Linked DNA regions of Homo sapiens: all the other regions are linked to region 1. The links are contacts of gene promoters, found by promoter capture Hi-C in blood cells and fetal thymus (Javierre and others, 2016). All regions are on one chromosome and are shown on one strand. Each heading gives the region's core, a stretch centred on a gene start or on the middle of the fragment in contact. The rest is flanking DNA. Distances are from core to core; before and after follow the strand shown.

Region 1 (4,880 bases), core at 1,097-3,596:
GGTATTCAGATTGACTTCTCTGGATACTGACACCCATCATGATTTCTTCTTGTGAAATTATAGTTTGTCTGAAAGCAACATGCAGAAACCACAGAGGTTTCTGATACTCTCAGCCTCACCACCCCCAACATAAATTTTCCTTTCACAATAAACAATGTGCCATCGAAAGGTTTCCTGTTTCAAAATGGAATAGTAGATGAAAGAAACTGTTAACTCTCCCATTAACAACAAAAAAAGTTTCTTAATGAAGATGAATTCTCAAAGATGAAAATGGAAACTCCCTCAACTACTGCTTCTTCACTTAAGAACTAATCTGTTTCTTTCCCCAGTAAATATTTTCAGTATCATACCAGATGATTGTCATGAGTGGTCAAAGACTTAAATAACCTGCTGGTACTCTTTTGTTATCTAAGAGCAACACAACCTCACAGAAGACAGAACAAACACTTCCAAGCATTCTATGGCCATACACCAACAAAAAGCAGCCAATGGTAAAACTTTACATACTGAGTCATGTAGAGGAACTCTGAACCTTAAAGAGTAGAAAGGATGAAAGGTTAAAAAACAAAAAAGTCTTTGAATCCAACTTTTCAAAAAACACAGAGTTGAAGAAAAATGATGAATTGAAATCAAAAGATTGTTGCCATAACAATGGTTGGTATTAATTAACAGTATAAATAAATCTGGAGAAACCACAGACAAAGTGAATAGTGTTTCGCACAGGCAACGTCAGACAGAACTTACCACTTTGTCCATGAGCTTCCAAGTCTTCTCCACGGTCCTGCGATCTGCGGCAGCTTGCTTAGGGGGTCCAACTGCATCCTGAATAGCATCAATAATACCCAAAATTCGACCTTTTCGGGGATTTCCTCCTCGACCACCAGGGTTTCTGCCATTCATTGAGTTTGCCATCTGGAATTTTAGTTCTTTAAAAGGCAGATTTAAAAAAAGAAAAGTTAGTTGGTTTTGAAAATATTTACCCACCAGAAAACTAGAGACTAACTTGTACCACTGCATCTTCCTCCATCGATTAGAGCAAAACCAAAAGTTCCGGATTCATCTTTATCAATAAGCTTGTGAATTTACACTCTCAATCTTTACACACAGTAGTTTTAAGAGCAGTGATCCTAGATTTGCTTTTACAATACTAAGAGTTAAAGATGCATCCTGCTCACGTTTCAAGTAGCTAAGGCTGAACTAATACTCAACTCATAAAAAAAAAAAAAAGAACAAACAAAACTTAAACAGGTTTCCCCCACCTAGATAAAAACAGAATGTTCTTCCCCTCCTGCCTTAATTCCAATTCAAAATACCAGAACAACTGAAGGTCCTATCATACATTTTGGGAGCCTTACGCAGAAACTTCACTTTCACTCTGTTAGATTTCTCCAAGTTACATAAACATAAAGATTATCCTACACAAACGTAAGGGACAGCTCTGTTGTCAACAAAAGCGCAGGGCATGTCCCACACTAAAACCACCAAGTACGGACACACGAACACCTTTCTTTAAATCAACGCGGTGAGTCGTTATTCCCAAGAACCAAATGAAATTAACACACAAATAGCCCATTTGAAAAGAGAAAAGAGAAAAATGACAAGAGCGGCCACGGAAAGGAGGAGTTCACTTCTCTGGCTCCTCGCCTCTGCCCTCAACCCAAAGCTTTGTTTCAGGACGCCTGTGTCCCTTCCCTGCTCAGGCCCCTTCCCGGCCCCTCGGGTCTGAGCTGCAGGAGGAAGGTGGACTGGGAGGGGACAAAGTGTCCCTCCCGTGCCCGCAGCACCGTCCGTCTAGGGCGCGGGAGGGACACTGTGGGCTCGGCGCCTGGGTGGACGCGCCTCCCGGCCGCCTGCTGCAGTCCTCACCGCCGTCTGCCTGGACGCCCTCTCCCTCCTCCCCGGCCTGCGGGTTCTGGTCTTTAAATGCCCCACTTCAAACTGGACGGCGGCGGCAAAGGCAGCTGAGAGCCAGGGCTGTCCCCTCTTCCTCCTTGGCCCGCGCCTGGCTACCCCGGGCCCCCGGGCCGGCAAGAAGTGTGGAGCCTCCCCGGCGACCCCTTCCCTTCTTGCCTTTCGGCGCCGTAGCTGTCCAGAGACACGCGTGTGCGCGGGTCCCACTCCACACGCACGCAGCCCAGTGTGTGTGGGGAGCCCCGGCTGGGAGTGGGATCGCTGAGAACAGCTCGCTCCCGAAGAAGGAGCAACCCAGCGCGCAGGCCTCCGAGACGTGGAAACGCAACAATTACCGTCAAGACAAATCCACACCCGCTCTCCCCTCCCGCCCGACTCGGGGAGGCCGCGGGACGCCGCAGCAGCACTAGCAGGAGGAGGAGACCGCTCGCTGGACACCCCACCCCTGTGGCACACACAGGACCCAGGCTCGGGGCGGGGCGGGGCGGGGGCGGGGCCGGGCGCCGCTGAGCCAATGCCGCGCAACCGCGCACTGCCCGACAGCGGGTGCAGCCAATGGACGGGAGGCGCCCGTCCTCCTCGCGCTGCCGCCCCGTCCACGTCCTCCACAGTACACAATGGCCCCAGAGGAAGGCCCGCTCGCAGCACGTCAGAAAGGAATTGGACTCGGAGAGAAATGAGGGGCCTGGACTCTCCCGGGAACGAAAGTGGAAACGGGAAAGGAAATGGACGAAGGGATGCAAGGCACGAAGGAGCTAACCAATAAGGGGTGGCAGGTGGGCGTGAGCGTCGGGACCGGGAGCCAAAGCCATCTGGGGCTGAAAGGCGGGACTTCCTGCTTCGCTTACCTTCCTAGTCTTTTGTTTCATAGCAACAGAGTAGTGGCTGGAAGGGTGTTGCTTCTCCGCTCTGGGCGGGTCCAACGCTGGAGAAATTCATCTCCCTAGGGCTGCCAAACCCTTCTACCCAGGACAGCAGCCAAACAGGTCTATGACGTTGCTTCTTGTTGGCTATCAAAAAGAGCAACAGCCACTGAGCTTCTAAAATGCAGAATAAATCTCACAGAGAGTAGGCTGGGGTGACATCTGAATGCCAACTGAAACTTCCCAAGTTTCCGAGTTTCTCTTTTGCTGTTAGTTTTAGAGGGATTGCAGACCAAACATCAGGCTGATGAAAAAGCAAATAGTTGACAACGCTGGCCAAACAGTCTCTGCTAATCATGCCAAAGCAATAAAAGTACCAGATAATGGGAATTGCTGATAAATACCTTGCACCTTTTTACTTAGTGCAAGTTTCTGCCTAAATGACTGAGGAGGAGACAGCTACTGTGTTTTGTCGGAGTCACCTTTACATAGATTTCTATCCATTTAAAAACAACCTTACTGTAGCTGCCATTCTCTACCAGCATTGTTACCTCTTTCTGTGGCTCCCTTCTTTGTGCTCTTAAAAAGGCCGACATCTGGCTAGTCTTTAAAGGAGAAAGCTACTGTGCTGGGACTTGTCTTTCAGCAATATCATAGGTTAAACAAATGCCTTCCATTTATTTCAGTTTACTTCAATCCCACCACTCATGCTACCAACAATTGCTCTGGACTTCATACTTTGGAACTTTCTTTCCACTACAGTTGATAGCGTTTATTACACTTTTCAGCTTGGACATCTCAGATGTTCTGATATTTTACATTGGGTTTTTTGTTTTTGATTTTGTTTTTTCAAATCTTGCTCTAACCACGTAACCTGATAAAATGTTTCTCAATGGTTCTAACCACTTTCTAGCAACTAAGAATTTTAATACTGTAATTATTACTATGAAGGATCCTGAGTTTTCCTTTACAGCCTTGAATTTACATGGTTAAGATTTTAATTTGACGAAAACAGAAAAAAAATGTGCCTTTGCAACCAGTCAGGTGATAAAGTGTGATTCAGGAAGTAATTTTGTTTCCTTGTCATTATTTCTGTGCCAGTAATTAAAGAGTAGTTCCTTGTTTTCACATTGCATTTATCTACAAAAGTGCTGGCCTCTCCATATCTCCTCCACCCATCCATATCTCTTTTACTCATAGTCGTAGTAGCTACATTTACTAAGGGGAGACTGTAAAAGAAAAAAACTGTGTTACCTTTAAAATAAATTTTAAAAGAATTAATGTGTAGAAGCATGTAGCAAAACAGTGGCTTAAGGGAACATTATAACTAAGTATATTACTTATATTCATATCTGGATAAATGTAAAATACCCAAAATACATGTTATAGCATGTGCCATTCCTTTTATATGGTGTTTTGCAACTGAAAGAGATGAGTTAATGAGAAAATGGCATTGCCTATGGTATCAAGCATATCATGTTGATATAAATTACAAGTTTTGAGGTGTATGGTTTGACGTATTTTGAAATATATGTATGTGAGATACGGTAGCATCCCTTACCACTTATTTGCCATCTCACTTTCCTTGGTTCTAGTTACCTGTGGACAACCAGGGTTTGAAAATAGGTGAGTATAGTACAAAAAGATATTTTGAGAGAGAGAAAAATACCACATTTATATAACTTGTATTACAGCATATTGTTATTATTTTATTAATAGTTATTGTTATTAATCTCTTACTGTGACTACTTCATAAACTTATCATAGGTATGTATGTATTGGAATACTCATAGTATATATAGCGTTCAGTATTTTCTGAGATTTCAAGCATGCACTGTGGGTTTGAGCATATCCTGTGGATGAAGGGAACTGCTGTATGTACATATGTACGCATGTGTGTGTGTGTGTGTGTGTGTGGTCAAGAAATTATAGCTTATCATCAACTAGCTATTTTATCAAGCAATCTGGAATCCAGGTTAAGTTCTGGTGTAGCAGGGTTCCCAGTTGAGCTGAAACTCGGATTCAGTTTGGTTTTCTCTCATAAACTGATGGAGCAGTAGAAGTCCTCCCTGCCAATTATTAGAAAAAGTAAATGTGCACGGGGAA
Region 2 (4,880 bases), core at 946-3,445, 290 kb after region 1:
GGCCTAGGGAATATAATCTACGGTGGGCTGCCCTCTTTCAGAATTTAGCTCAGCATATGGAGAGGAAGCGCTTATGTTAGACAGATGGCATGTTGGCTTTGTTAAATTATTTCTTAAATACAGAAATAATGTGTCTGGGAAATTTCTGTGACCCAATAGTCTAGTACAGAATCTGCAAACTTTTTCCATAAAAGGCCAGAAAGTAAAGATTTTAGGTTTTGTAGATCATATGATCTCTGTTCCAAGGACTGTCATTGTAATGCCAAAGCTTCCTTGTATGACAAATGCATAAGTGTGGCTATGTTCTAGTAAACTTGATTATGAAGACTTAAATTTGATTTTTGTATAATTTTCATGTGAAGAAATATTCTTCTGTGTTTTTGGTTTGCTTGTTTAAAAATATGAAAAAAAGTTTTAGTTCTCAGAAACACAAAAGCAGACTGCATGCCAGATTTGGACTGTGTGCTGTGGTTTGCTGATCCCTGATCTAACATCACACTCTAATAGAAATGAGATTTGTATAGCATCCTTTGAGTTAAGTGAATACTTGCTAAGTCTTAGTACTCACTGTTTCCCTGCCCCTATAAATTTTGGTAAATCAGTTACTAATTAACAATGTATTCTAGATATCATATGATATGTAAGTCAATTCAGCAATCTGATTTCATACTTTATTAATTACTGCTACAATTTATTAAGAACTCACAAGGTACAATGATTTTACATACATTACCTTAACTCTTAAAAAACACGTTATGACATAGCTATTGTCATTCCCATTTTATCACTGAAGATATTAAGGTTCAAAGCAGCTAAAAAAATATTTTGCTTGTATTTCACACAGCTAGAAATGCAAAACCCAGAACTGAACCCAAAGTTGGATACAACTCTTTTCACCACAACAAGTTTTCCTGGAGGTAGATGCGTGAACTCATTAAAAACTGATAGCTAGTATTTTATTCTCTGTCTTCACTTTTGTTTCAGTTCTGTTGCAACTTTTCGTGTATATTTTATCATTTACAACTTCAAAATACTATTTCTTCAATGGATCCAAAACCTGCCAGGTACAGTGGCTCACGCCTGTAATCCCAGCACTTTGGGAGGCGGAGGCGGGTGGATCACCTGAGGTCAGGAGTTTGAGACCAGCCTGGCCAAAATGGGGAAATCCTGTCTCTACTGAAAATACAAAAATTAGCTGGGAGTGGTGGTGTGTGCTTGCAATCCCAGCTACTTGGGAGGCTGAGGTAGGAGAATCGCTTGAACCCGGGAGGTGGAGGTTGCAGTGAGCCGAGATGTCTCCATTGCACCCCAGTCTGGGTGACAAAGCCAGACTCTGTCTCACACAAAACAAAAAACAAAGCAAAACAAAACAGCACAGCTAATGCCAAGTGACAGTGGAGAGTGGAGACTCTCATTGTGGAGAGTGGTTTGGAAGTCCTAATGCCTGTTACTGACAGGGTGGGCAAGTGAAAAACCTCACAAGAAAGAACACATTCTCTCTGAAGAAAGAAAATAAAAGCAAGTAGGAGGTAAGTAGTTCTGCCCTTGAGCTCTGTGGAAATGTTGGCCTTGGTCTGTTACTAATATGGTCTTGGGTAATACACTTAACCTCTCAGATTTCTAATCTCAAAATTGCTTATTAAATTCATTTGTATACTGACCTTTTACAAGTGAACTTGAGGCAACATTGGCAAATCAAATTTAGCACCTATTCTGCAAAATTCACAAGGTTGCTGATGTTGCTCCAGTTAGGGTATGTGACGAACTGCTGATACTCCACAAATAAAAGCTATTGATATGAATAATTTAGATTTCTACACTCATAAATTATGTTCAGTTAGGCTCAAAACATACTGGTACTTATTCTATGAAATATAATAATCTTTAATGAGAATAATGTTATTTGCCCTTTCCCACATTGTATAAATGTTAAAAGGATGAATCCATTAATCTCTGTTAATATTTGCCCTTTGGACAAAACTATTATTAAATAATAGGATATACTTTCCCCTAGAATAAATATCACATTTCATAATAAATGTGTGTAATTAGAATTCTATATGAATTTCCAAACACAGGTATTAGTGAAATATTATTTTGGAGGAAAAAAAGTAGCCATTTTATAACTCATTGCCTCTTCAGTGGTGTTTTCACAGGGAAGTTACAGGTAAGATGCAAAGGTGTGGCATCAGCAGAAGAGGTGAAATGAATGTCTATATACCATAGCCTTTTTCTTATCTTACGCAGTAAAATTCAGTAGAAAGCAAATGGATATGCACAGTATTAAATTAACTTAACAACAAAGAGCTAGAGAAATTCTTTGTAGCAACACATCCTGCTACACACACGTCTCTCCTTCAGCAGGCTATTACCTTTTAACCATTTGAGGCTTCTCACATTTCCGCTGCAGCTGGAGCATATCCCAGGGCACTTCCTGCCTCTTAGGATTTTTGACACAGAGCCCTGTATCTCTACCATTTGGCTTCCTTCTAGGCATCCGATTTGTTGCAATGAAGATCAATTATGTCTCTATTGTCATCTTCATCATAAGTAAAAGATGTCCAGTCTACTTTCCAGAGACAGGTATACCAGTTTATGTGTGTGGCAGGGGGAGGGGAGAGAAGCAAGGAGTGGATGCCGTTCTGTTTGTTTTTGACACGAAACTGTTTAAATTTGCACATAGGGAGAACATAACCCAGACAAATATTCTTATCAAATGAAAATGTCACACTATATTTAGGGAGCCCTCACCAAAATCTAACCAGATCCATACTTCACCTAAACATCAGAAGAAAGGCTTTAACATTTGGCAAGGATTAATGATTGATTTCTTTTGTCTAGCCATATCAATCAGACTCTAAAACATGCACTTATTTTGACCCCATAATACAACTTAGGATGAGTTCATCCTGCATACACACTGACAAATGTGCATCAAGAAATATGAATAAATATGGCCATATTATTATTGTTCAAAAAGTAAAAAACCAGAAACAGCCTAAATGTGGATCAGTGATGGAATGGTTCAATAAACTAATAATTTGCATTTTAAATATTATGTTGCCATCAAAATTTGGAGCAGATTTATATGTACTTATATGAAAAGGGCTCTATTCTTATGTAAAAAAAAATTCATGGAATAAGACGTGTATTCTGATACCATTAATGTAAACAGTGGATGCATGCATGTATGTGTACCTACACACAAACTTAGAAACATATATGGAAGGATGTATATAAAACTATTAGTAATAATTTCAATTAGATAATACAGGAATGGAAAATTTGGAGCAAAAATAAAAGGTGATTTCTTATTTCACCCTACTTTGAATTTATTTTCTTTTTATATTTCTCTACACATTCATATCTACTTTATTAAGTCAAGCAGGTCAGCAACACAAAAGAAAATAGCCTTTGAAGACTCTCTTACCGTCTTTAAAAAGCTGTAGTTTTCTTTATCTCAATAAGCTCCTATAGTTATAAAGACTTTTGCTCTTTGAAAAACACACATAGGTGTCACACACAGATGTACCTGCAGGGAACAAGAGGGTATTAGCAGTGAATAAATTGTGGTGAGCAGACACTGAGGTAAACAAAGAATGCATGCTTTATCTGAAGTGGGCCTTAGCCTCAGACTATCGTGCCATTGTGACCCAGCATTGTAATTCTTGCTATCTTTCTGGAAAAACTGGAAATTCATATTATTAGGAGAAATGATCCTACTTTAAAAATATTGGTGCCTAAAGAGTTCAACTTTTTTAGATTCCACATGTAAGTGATACACGCAGGATTTGTCTTCCTGTTTCTGGTTCATTTCACTTAGCATAATGCCCTCTAGATTTATCCATGTTGTCACATGTGGAAGGCATGGAAGCATTCCTTTTTTTTGAAGACTGAATAATATTTCATTATATATGAGAGAGAGACATACACAGACACACATATACATACATACATGTATATACACACACATACATATATATCACTTTTTAAAATCTTTTCATCTGTTGATGGACACTTAGCTTGATTCCACATCTTGACTAATGTCAATAATGCTGCAATGAATAGAGAAGTGCAGATATCTCTTCCAATTATCAGCCAAGAATTTTTTACCCAGCAAAACTAAGCTTCATAAATGAAAGAAAGATACAGTCTTTTTCCAAACAAACGAATGCTGAGAGAATTTGCCACTACCAGGCCAGCACTACAAAAACTGCTAAAAGGAGCTCTAAATCTTGAAACAAAATCTCAAAATTCACCAAAATAGAAGCTCCTTAAAGCATAACTCTCACAGAATCTATATAACAATAACAATGAAAAAACAAACAAACAAGTTATTTAGGCAACAAATAGCACAATGAATAGAATAGCACCTCACATCTCAATACTAACATTGAATGTAAATGGCCTAAATGGTCCACTTAAAAGATACAGAATGGCAGAATGGATAAGAAATTACCAACCAAGTTTCTCCTGTATCCAGGAGACTCACCTAACACAGAAGGACTCACATAAACTTAAGGTAAAGGGGTGGAAAAAGATATTCCATGCAAATGGACACCAAAAGAGAGCAAGAGGAGCTATTCTTATATCAGACAAAAGAAACTTTAAAGCAACAGAAGTTAAAAAAGACAAAGAGGAACATTTTATAATGGTAAAAGGACTAGTCCCATAGGAAAAGTTCACAATTCTAAATATATATGCACCTAGCACTGGAGCTCCCAAATTTATAAAACAATTATGAATAGACCAAGAAATGAGGTAGACAGCAACACAATAATAGTGGAGGACTTTAAAACCCCACTGACAGCACTAGACAGGTCATCAAGACAGAAAGTCAACAAAGAAACAATGGACTTAAACTACACCCTACAACAAAT
Region 3 (4,880 bases), core at 718-3,217, 270 kb after region 1:
CATAAACTCCATGGAGGTGTAGGAAACTGGCCAAATACTGCAAGCTACGCAATGCCCAAAGATAAACCTAATAAAGAGAAAGGGATTGGGAAGAAGAAATAAGGAGGGTCTACATTAAAGAATTCAGTACTGCGCTTGGGTACAGGAGGGATTTGGAAATAAGATTGTAGTTTGAGTTACTACAAATAAAGCTAAAAAAGAAAGCGTGCCAACAATTTAATAAAGCTAAAAAAGAAAGAGTGCCAAAAATTTAATAGTAATATCCCGCAAATTGAAGCAAGCAAAGGAACTATATCTCTTGGTTTCAAAATGGAAACAAACATAAAATCTCATTCTTTCACAATTACCTAAATAGGAATTTGCAATCAAAGTGCTATGATTCAGTTGAAATTAATCTTGCTTCATTAATGGAAGTACTAAGGCAGCAAAATAAGAGTGTAAAAGCTAAGGGAATATTTACTTAAGAGAACACCCTATATTAAGCTTTCATATTTTTTCCTTTTTAATGTAATTGTAGCAGCGAAACTAGATGGAATAATGCGTGCTATCACAACTCATTTCTATGTTTGTTTAAAAAGGTTACAATTAAATAAATTACTTGCTATACATGTTTATAATGACATTTTCATAGAATTATGGCTACAGAAGACCTTCGGTGTTTATCATCTGAGTCTGTTTATATGTGTTTGCCTCAAACATCTTTTACTGCAGTACATACTCTGAAAGGCTTCATGTTATGGATTTTTATACTATTTTATCATTCCTGAGTGATATGAAATATGATTTTTAGAAAAAATATATTTATATTAGGTTAGAATTATTAAAGATAGTGTTTAAGGTTTAGCATGAACTTTAATAATAGTTAGGAAACTATTTAACTTCAAAGTAATTATGTGAGAAAAAGCTTGACTTAATGATAAACTTTAAGATGGCATTGTATCAAATCTGACATTAGGGCCAAATATACATTAAAATAAAGATTATACTTTAATAAAGATTTTCAGTATTAAAAATGAACAAAGCTGACATTGTGAGCTGCTGTTTGTAATTCTTTTAGCTTACACTTAAAAGAACTTCAACTTTAAAATTTCTGTGCTCTGTTGATAACTGAGGAGATGAAAGAGGATTTCAGCCTTTTATTTACTTTCACTTTTCCACATGAAATATATTGTGGTTATGGATAGTCTTTATTTCCAAATGCGCTATGATCAGTACCATCTTTTATCTTTTTAATATATATTTTTAAATTACTACAGAAATTATTATACGGCATGTGATGGTCTTTATCTGAAGGATATAATTTATAGATATAATGAAGATCCCTGAGGTGAATTTGCAAAATAATCATTTATTGTTCAACATTAAGTGTTCCTTGTGATTATGGTCTTTAACTATCATCCATTAGGGTGTAAATTGTTCTAGCAGTGTTCAGCTGACTGATAAAGATACTGAGAGAGAGACGGAGAGAGAGAGAGAATGCAAGCATGAGAGAGAGAACAGCATGTTAATCAGATTCCTACTCCCTGTTGTGCATACTCAAAGTGCATTCTGAGGTCCTAAAAATCTGTTCAGTTATAAAGGGGAAAATAATTATTTTTTGTTTGAAAAATTGTATTGAAAAGGAACTCCACTACCAACTTAAATAATCACAAACTTTTGCAATATATTTGTGAATCTTCAGATATTTAAGAAGCACAGGTGAAAAAAATGGAATTTAGAGAAGTTTTTGAAAGGCAAAATGCACTGAACAATTAAAGATATGATTTTATTCAGGCTACTGCAGCCTGGAAAATGTGCATTAATGAGGAACAGCTAAAAGAAAAGGAAGAAGGACTGGAGTTTTATAGAGGCAAGTAAACAAGGGAGGTAACTTCAGTTCTTATAGGACTGCAGAGAATGCATGGAGATGGGTCTTACATTTAAGGGCAGAGTAATCTCTTATGATTTCCCAGAACATGAAAATATGAGGCAATTTCTTATCCATCACTACTTTCAAAGAGTACAAAAGTCAGGTGACATTCAACATTTTCATTCTCCCTGTTTCAAAGATAAACATCATTAATCACTGAACAACTGAGAGGTAGTCATAAACCTTAGTGGGGTGAATGAAGCAAGGCCTAAGATATAGTCTTTCAGGGATTCTTTTGACAGTGTCCTGTAAAACCAGTTAAACAACCCATTGAGGGATGGTGGCAAAGTTGAGTTGTTTTAGATACCTGAAGATTAGACATCTAAAAAAAGAGAGATCTAAAATGAAAAAGAAATATTAATATAAAACATTGTATTAGCGAGCCAGGAGCTGAACCACTTAGGGTAACAAATCCAGTGGATTCCAAGAAGTCAGAGGGTAAAAATCTTTTGGTTGTAAAGCAGTGTTCTTTGAGTTTCTCGTAGCTCTTGGGCTAGGCTGTCAATATTCTTGGTGATGTTGTCCACATCTCTTGCAGAAGGTCATACATGACCCAACCTTTTGGCTTGACTTTTTTTGCGTTCTAGTTAGAGACTTGCCCAGGAAGAAATCCAGCCCAGGCGTGGTCTACTGTGATGATAATATTTTGAAGTTAATATTTCAAGGCTTCTGTAGACTATGGGGAAATGAGCAGGATATAAGGCAATGAGAATCTGTGCATTCAGATTTTAGTTCTAAATGAGGCCAAGTCAGGAAAAAGGGAGATAAATTGAAAACATTAGTTTGAAAGGTTGTATTGAGTCAAGATTTCAAGTTACCCAAAGATCTTCGAGATTGTATTCAAACTTTTCTATGATAAAACGTAATTTATGATGAAAAAATTTTCTCAGAATAATGATTTAATTAGGTAAAACACAAATTTATACTCTTCGTAGTTTTAAACATTCAGGAGAACAAGGCCAGATGCAGTGGCTCAAGCCTATAGTCCCAGCACTTTGGGAGGCCAAAGTGGGAGGATCACTAATGCTACTTTATTTGTTCAGTAAATGTATGTAAGTTTAGGAAGAATATACTCAAGTAAAATAAAATTAGGTATACTATACTTGTGCTGAAAAATCAGAGAAAGCTTTTTTCACTAAACCAAAAATTTAAAACTAGTTTTGTTTGATGAAAACTTACTTGAATTATATTAACTTGAATTGTTAAAATAGTTCAAGGCTAGTTTCTATAATATCTTTTTTTTTGCACACTGAAACTATAAGATGTTCACTTTTCTTAGTTTCTGAGAATTTTAGGATTATTTAATTTATGTAAGTGCTTATTCCTTTCAAAGCCAATTAGAAAAGGATTCCTTTAATATAAAAGAGTTTGCAATCTAACTTATGAATACCATGTGGAATTAGGAAAATATTCCACCCAGTGAGAGGGAAAGGGCTTTATAAATTATAGACATATAAACATACTTTATACACACAGATGTAACTTCACTTCTAAAATTTTACTCATAAGTTGATCATAAACAGAAATACAAAATTTATATAAAAAAGCTGTTCTCTTTCTAGTGGGTCTGAATTCTTACTTGATTTGAGCTCATAATAGATACACAGAGATTTAAAAAACAGATTTTCTGTCATCTTTCACCCAGCAGAGACAAAATCTCTACAAACCATTCATTGGAGACCACCAAATGAGTGGTCAAATGGTTTATTTTTATTTTTTTAAAAAGAAGCCAGCATTAGAAATCAAGTGAGTGCTGAATAAAAATGAAATCAAATCCTTACCACACAACCAACAGACGAGACTACAGAGCACAAGACCAGATGTAGGACACACCATTGGGTCCCCGGACTGCCAGTTAGGAATGGAGCACCAAGGGACCAGAGAGGCCTCCTTATCAGGGTGGAGTAAATGGGGATCCGAAGGTGAGATCCAATCCCCTCTGAGTCTTGGCATCAAACTGTGAAAGACAAAATGCACGGGACAACTAGAAAAAAGATTTTATTCAGGTTATTGAAATAAAGACAACATTCATTCATGAGAAACAGCTTGACAAGAAAAGGAAAGGAGCCTGGGATTTTATAGAGGCGGGTAGAAAAGAGAGTCATTCAGGAGTCCCAATCTGAGGCACAGATAATTATAACTGTCCAAGTTCTCATCCTATTTAGTGGTCAACATGGATCCAGACCTCTAATTTCTAATAATTACTTCAGCCCTTTTTCTCAACCTTAAACATTTGTCCCTCAACAAGTCAAAATTAATGAAGTTTTCCCATAATTTGGAAAGGTAGGAAATAATAAACAGAAAAAAATAGTTGAAAAGTTTGAAAAGTGAAAGTACAGCTATGTCTCAAAGAAAGCATGATGATGGCTTTGGAGAATCTAATATTTCTTAGCCAATGATGGTGAGGTAGTTCCCTTTGGTGAAATGTGAACATTAGCCATTTCATAGTTCATTTCCTAAAGTCTAAGTATATGGATAAGGTCTATGCCTTTCCCACAGAGGTGTACAGGTAAGGTGTAATCAAGTTTGCTTACAAAATTTTTTTAAACTATGACCTTGGCAGAGATGTAGTTGTAATAGAAATTATATTCTGGAACTGTAAAAGCAACTAAATGTATAATTATTTGGCTGTTCTTCCTGCTCTTTCTCTGACTCTTCCCATATCTGGATCCTTCTTACTCATTGGATTTCAGGACAAAAAATGCTTTCTCAGAGATGGCTTTTGTGTTCATCTGTTTAAACGCAGTCCCCTTTCTTAGTCTTGTCATCTTCTAACAAATTACCATGTTTACTCATTGCTATGGTTTGGATATGGTTTGCTTGTCCCCACCAAATCTTATGTTGAAATAATGATCTCCAGAGTGGTGGTATTGGGAGGTGGGGCCTAGTGAGAGGTGTTGGCATCATGGGGGCAGATCCCTTGTAAATGGCTTGGTGCCATTCTCATGGGAGTGAATGAGTTCTTGCTCTT

The links. The method cuts DNA at HindIII sites, captures the fragments that hold promoters and counts their contacts. A CHiCAGO score of 5 or more calls a contact.
Region 2: a contact is called between a fragment that was not itself captured here and the fragment with the promoter of CBLB in region 1, in 4 of 17 cell types (activated CD4 T cells, total CD4 T cells, naive CD8 T cells and 1 more). The highest score is 7.9, in activated CD4 T cells.
Region 3: a contact is called between a fragment that was not itself captured here and the fragment with the promoter of CBLB in region 1, in 1 of 17 cell types (activated CD4 T cells). The highest score is 5.1, in activated CD4 T cells.

What each region holds. Positions count from the first base shown.
Region 1 is chr3:105,866,666-105,871,545 of GRCh38, forward strand. It overlaps CBLB (Cbl proto-oncogene B), which reads right to left and starts at 2,347. Exons shown (of 19, transcript NM_170662.5): 1 at 2,071-2,347; 2 at 745-926. The coding sequence starts at 912. RefSeq lists enhancers at 219-268, 299-348, 469-558 and a silencer at 2,316-2,545. The HindIII fragment of the contact is 9,979 bases long and covers 1,662-4,880 here.
Region 2 is chr3:106,159,024-106,163,903 of GRCh38, forward strand. No RefSeq gene overlaps it. Among named protein-coding and RNA genes, the nearest start is that of CBLB, 290 kb to the left of the region's middle. The HindIII fragment of the contact is 3,859 bases long and covers 267-4,125 here.
Region 3 is chr3:106,138,548-106,143,427 of GRCh38, forward strand. No RefSeq gene overlaps it. Among named protein-coding and RNA genes, the nearest start is that of CBLB, 270 kb to the left of the region's middle. The HindIII fragment of the contact is 2,131 bases long and covers 903-3,033 here.